2 separate regions of the Homo sapiens genome follow, and region 2 is linked to region 1. The links are contacts of gene promoters, found by promoter capture Hi-C in human tissues and cell types (Jung and others, 2019). All regions are on one chromosome and are shown on one strand. The core of a region is centred on a gene start or on the middle of the fragment in contact, and the rest is flanking DNA. Distances in the headings are between cores, read along the strand shown. Region 1 holds the start of TFAP2B (transcription factor AP-2 beta). Region 2 overlaps TFAP2D (transcription factor AP-2 delta).

What was found. Contacts are between HindIII fragments. The study calls those that stand out against the background at their distance.
Region 2: a contact is called between a fragment that was not itself captured here and the fragment with the promoter of TFAP2B in region 1, in 4 of the 25 tissues and cell types used here (H1 embryonic stem cells, liver, neural progenitor cells and 1 more).

The regions. Positions count from the first base shown.
Region 1 is chr6:50,817,435-50,820,359 of GRCh38, forward strand. It overlaps TFAP2B (transcription factor AP-2 beta), which reads left to right and starts at 1,437. Exons shown (of 7, transcript NM_003221.4): 1 at 1,437-1,538. The coding sequence starts at 1,458. It overlaps LOC124901490 (a long non-coding RNA gene), which reads right to left and starts at 1,592. Exons shown (of 2, transcript XR_007059923.1): 1 at 1,468-1,592; 2 at 1-210. The HindIII fragment of the contact is 7,987 bases long and covers 1-2,925 here.
Region 2 is chr6:50,715,131-50,718,055 of GRCh38, forward strand. It overlaps TFAP2D (transcription factor AP-2 delta), which reads left to right. Exons shown (of 8, transcript NM_172238.4): 2 at 1-483. Among named protein-coding and RNA genes, the nearest start is that of TFAP2D, 3.1 kb to the left of the region's middle. RefSeq lists enhancers at 130-660, 2,401-2,925. The HindIII fragment of the contact is 3,132 bases long and covers 1-2,925 here.

The DNA of each region.
Region 1 (2,925 bases), core at 187-2,686:
ACAGCGTCCATCCCTGTTCGCGCAGAGCTGCACACAGCAGTCCTGGATTTAAAGACAATCACCCTTTGCAGATTCACTCTCACCAGGCTTAATAACTTCCACCCCAAATTGCCCCATCCCTCCTCGGTCCCTCCTGGCATTTCTTTTCTGTCCCAGGCGCAGAGATCCTCTTCTGGGCGTCTGTTCCGGCTATGAGAAGCTCTCCGCACCCTGAAAGGGAGTAGAAAAACAGAGGGGATGGGAAAGGGGGAACAGGGGAACAGATGAGTATTCATTTCATGATAAAATTCAGAATCCCTGCGCCTTAAATGGTGCCCATTTTCTAAGTCTGGTTAATATTGTTCTTGTTGCTGATGATGTTTTCCTTTTTAAAAACTATATGAATCATCTTATTAAGAAAAATTATACAAAAAAAAGAAGAAACTCCACATGCACTAAAATATTTTTCACTATCTCTTTGAAGACATTCTGCTTAAACCTTTTCAAAGATTCGGGTGGCCCTTTCTTGACTCTCCATGATTAAAACCACTTACAAGTCATACACAACAGATGCAAATATAAAATGTCCTTGGCCTCTGCAAAAAAGGCTCAAAATTAACCTTGTCTGAACGTGTGCGTACGTTGCTTCCAACATCTGAAAAAAACTTGATAAAATGGAGACTCCAGCCAAGAGGAATGGTGCATGGAATCCGTTGAAAATGCATACAAACAACACCTAAAATAACAAGCAGCACAAACTGAGGTGTATTTAAGTTTCCAAAGGTTTTAGGTAAAATGACCAGAAAATATTAGAAATGGTCATCAACGGTGGCTAGCTTTTTTGTTCTATGGTGACAGAGATAAAGTTAAAAAAAAAAAAGTTGTGTAGCCATCAACACAGAGATAGTCCTTAAAATCCCCCATATCCAGCCTTTCAAAATACTCTCTTCCGGAACATACATGAATAGGAGGGAGCTTTTGTGTTTAAAAATCTTGGTAAGTGTCCCCCTTTAAAATCTACATAGAAAATAGGGGACTGATGGCCCCTGGTTTCTCATTATGAATTGCAAAGACTTCAGTTAGTGGCTACAATGATGTGTCATTTTCGATATAGAAGTTATAAAATGTATATATTATATTAATCACCCTGAACAACTCTTTGTTAAATGCACATTTGGAGTCTGCAGACTGTGTGACCCAGAGGTGCTTATATAACTATATGTGGGTGTCTGGGTGTAAATACGGGTTTATGATTTTTATAGTATATATGTCTGTGGGTTGCATCTAACTCCTGTGTGTGCAATAATGTTTTTTCTCTTTGCTGAGGCTTACTTGTCCAGCCTATTGTTTGAGACAACAGATATAAGTTGCGATGGGAGAGGAGCGTCGGATTTGGTGTGTATCCCCCATTTCCAATTATAGATGGATCATTACAGACAGCGGAGTCCTGAGAAGCCAGACATCTGCTCCTCACATGAATGCACTCACCTCCTAGAGACCAGGCTGCCATCATGCTCTGGAAGCTTGTGGAGAATGTCAAGTACGAAGATATCTATGAGGTGAGTCGACACCCCCAGATGCACCTTAGAGCTTTGCAGATAGAGAATTTGAGCTTCTTGATACCCCAAATGATATATATTTTTAAGCTATTTACTCGTAGATTTCCGGTCGGTTTTCTCAGCTTTTTTTAACTTTTAGAAAAGCTGGCTAGGGAAGACTTCGCTGCTCTGAAAAGGGACTTTAAGGCTGAAATCTGACAACTTTAATTTAGGAATGTTTTTATTTATTTTATTTTTCTTTCCCTTTTCCTCGCCTCCCCCCACCCCACCCCACCCTTTTAAGCTCTGATGGGGAATGTGGTGCTACTGAATGTGGGCACGCTCTCAGAGAAAATCGAGATTCTGATAAAGTCAGGGGCTTTTCTCGTTTTAAGTGTGGAAGAGAATTGGGTTTTCAAGCCTCATTTGTAACAGACTCGGGCTTTTAATTTTTATTTTCAATAAAATTTCTGAAATTGATAACAAATGGTTCCAAGTAGAGGACAGAGAATTAGCGGGAAAGAAGTAGATGGCTGGAGATATGGATGGATAGAGCAAAATAGAAGTCGTAGCAGTTTATTAGTTTCTGTTTTCTTGTGTTTTGCTTCCTTGAGGGTCACTGCGTCCGAACAGAAATCGCAGCCGCCTCCTGTGTGGGCATCTTTCACGGAAATTTCTGCCCACGTTCAATGCGTACGGGTCTCTAGCACTGAGGCTAGCTCAACTCTTCGGGGCAGGAGAAGTTGCGCCCAGCCAGGAGGACGCCAGCCGCCTCCGGGGCCCGGACCGCGCTCGCCAAAGCCCTTTTCCGGCTCGGGCGAGGGCTGACGCGGCCAGACGGCTCCGCTACTCGCGGGCGAGGCGGACTAGGCGGACGAGGCGGCCGAGGCGGGCGAGGTGGGAGAGGCGGGCGAGGTGGGAGAGGCGGCCGAGGCGGGCGAGGCGCGGGGCGCGCGGCGGGCCAGGCTGGGGACCGGGAAGCCCGCGGAGCCTCGCTTTTAAGCGGAATGGTCTGGGACAGCCCCAGGTGGTTGCCAGGGGAAGGGAGGAAGGGAAGGTTCTGCTGAGACGTCGAGGTTGGAAATAAAAACTTCGGAAAGGCGAAGCGGATTTAGAAAAGGAGGGAAGTCGAGGCGGGCGAAGCGGGCCATGGAGATTGCTAAGAGGAAAAGTTGGAGAGAAAAGGAAGGAAGAGAAGCAGACTCCCGGGTGGCGGGCGCGGGCCGCTAGGTCAGACGAAAGGTGGAGGGATGCAGAGGCTCCCCAAAGAGCCGAGAAAGACACGCGACCCCTCCGGATCGGGACAGCTCCTGAAAGCCCGGCGCAGAGCCGCCTCGAAGATCCTAAGAGTGGGCGACTCACAGGCGCGGCCGGCAAGCTCCTGGGGGACTCGGGCTCGGACGAGCGC
Region 2 (2,925 bases), core at 281-2,780, 100 kb before region 1:
TCAAACAGCTACCGTTTGATGCAGCTTGGCTGTCTGGAGTCAGTAGCCAATTCCACTGTCGCCTATTCCTCCTCCTCTCCTTTAACTTACTCCACCACCGGCACCGAGTTTGCGTCCCCCTACTTCTCCACTAACCACCAGTACACCCCGCTCCACCACCAGTCCTTCCATTACGAGTTTCAGCACAGCCACCCGGCCGTCACCCCCGACGCCTACTCTCTGAACTCTCTCCACCACTCGCAACAGTACTACCAGCAGATCCACCACGGGGAGCCCACCGACTTTATTAACCTGCACAATGCGCGGGCGCTCAAGTCGTCCTGCCTGGACGAGCAGAGGCGGGAGCTGGGCTGCCTCGATGCCTACCGCCGCCATGACCTGTCCCTCATGAGCCATGGCTCTCAGTATGGAATGCACCCAGATCAAAGACTCCTGCCAGGGCCCAGCCTGGGGCTGGCCGCCGCGGGAGCAGACGACTTGCAGGTAAATAAGCATGCAGCGAATTTGTCTGCTCCCTCCCCTCTTCGCCCTCCCCCTGCCGCCCCATTAATGCTCCGACTGTAAAGCGTCTCTCTTTCTCTCTCTCTTCTCCTCTCTCTCTCTCTCTCTCTCTCTCTCTCACACACACACACACACACACACACACACACCACTTATGGAAAGTTATCAAAACAATTAGAGGAGGAGTGTGCCCGTTCTCTTCCTCTCATTGGATCCAAGCATTTCACCTGGAAGTGCGGGAGTCCGGGCGGCTGCGGCCCTCCATCTTTGGTTTGTCCTCACAGAAGTCTTTTGTGAATCAACATTTGTGACCCTGAGGGGATGAGGTGGAGGAGATCGAGGAGTCTGGGGTTGGGCCAACCGGACTCAGAGTAAGATCCAATAAATTGATGACCAATCGTACCCTCAATCTCCGCACTTTACAGGGTCTTCCGAGGCGTCCCAGGTGTTTGTCTCAGACTGAGCTTGTGGAGATCTTACTACAAACAGGCTTGTTCTAAGGAAATTGTTGGGACCCTAAGCTTGAACAAAAGTTTCACCAAATACACTAGATATCTGTGGAAAGTAAAGAATCGCAAATGAAAGTCTCAAAGTTCTACCCCAAGGAAATAATCCGCACAGTGCACTTTGCCAGGGTGTAGGGTTGAGTTTAATTCTCTCCGCCTGACGTGCACTCAAAACCGCAGCCCAGTTAGGTAATTTACAAGTTTATTTTTGCTCTTCCAGCCATTACATTTTACGTAAAATGCACCTCCTTAAAAAGATAAAAATGAGGCAGTAACGGTAATGAAAGAGGGAAAAAATAAAGAAGGAAGGAAGGAAGGAGAAAAGGAAGGAAGGAAGGGAGAAAAAGAAGAAGGAAGGAAAGAAGGCAGGTATTCAGACACTGTGGAGGCCATCACTCAATCAGATGATCTCTCTTCTACTTTATTTCTTAACACGTGTTTGCACATTCTTTACCAAAGATAGAATTTATAATTATGCAATTATGTTGCCATAGGCATATTTCAAACAAATGAGCCCACAAATACCCAGAAAATAATTCAAAAGACCCATAGTTTTAGCTCCTTTTAGCTAAAAGTGCAGTTCTACCTGTGAGTTCCTACTTTTTGTGTCTGCACAAAGCTGGCCACCTTCTTCACACTCTCCAGGACAAATAGGGAAATATTCTAAGAACATAAGTTGGAGACGTAAGAGATCCCTTGTTGCGCACAAAAAATCTTTCCTCCTCATTTACCTTTGAGCAAGAGATTATTTTTAAATTAAAGTGAAAGCCCTTACAGTCCCAACAAAGAGCCATAGCAGTAAGACCGGTGCACAAGAAAAAAGATTTGGTTCCATAAACCTTGACTTTCTACATTTATATTCACAAAATAATTTTATACGCTCAGGGCATTTTTACATTTTTCACAAGGATCCCCTTATGTCTCAAGAGGGAAAAAAATCTGCCATTCAGTGCTTAGCTCAACTAAAACCTATTTACTCCTTTTAATAGCCGCGTCTGCTGCTGATTTTTTTGTATCTGTACAAATTTTTTTTCTGTGCTAGGCACAAAGCCGAGCATTTTTCAAAAGAGCGGATTAGAACATTTGCAAGCACTAGACAAAGAGCGAATCCCGTGCAAAAGGACACCGTAGTTTATCCAATTTTCGACTTAGTGCCATTCAACTGGTCATTTATGCAATGTCATCCGACCAAACAACATGTTTTACTTATGAGGGGAAAAAGTTTGTTAAGTGAAGAAACCAAGATTCGTTTCTTCTAAGAAAATAAACATTGTAACCGTGCGCCAGAGAGTGGGAGGGAAAGTGATTCACTGCTTTGGAGAGCTTTGAGACCATTTATCATCTACATTTCAGATATTTTGAAAGCTTTTCTTCAGCCTATCTCTTTTTCCATATACGAATGTCCTTTTTCTCTTTTATTACTCATACTGAAGCAAAATTACTCATACTAAGGGACACAGTCCAAGATACTAGAAGAAATATAGTACTGTGTGTGATATACGTTTATACCTTTACATAGATATATCCATGTATGTATATATCATAATATATATCCATCTTTATCTATTTAATCTATGAATGCTATGTAGCAAGTTTGTAAATCTGACAAGTTATTTTCTTCCACTGTTCTTGCTCCAAGTTGGCAGAATGAAAAAGAAAGAGTCATAGCTACTTTTAAAACAAGAAATGGGGAGGGAGTGTGTGGGAGAAACCCGTCTCTCTCCTTTTATTTCTTCCTTTTTAAAACATTCATCAGCATATGCCTCATTTCAAATGCAACAAATGTAAATATACTTTTCCCTGCACAGAATTTTAAGTGAAAGTCCAATGGTTTGGAGGGCGGTCTAAGTCTGCCTAACAGATGCAAACAGTCTTGTGGCTTCAGTTCCATCTTTGAGTCCCCTAAAAAGATTTGCTA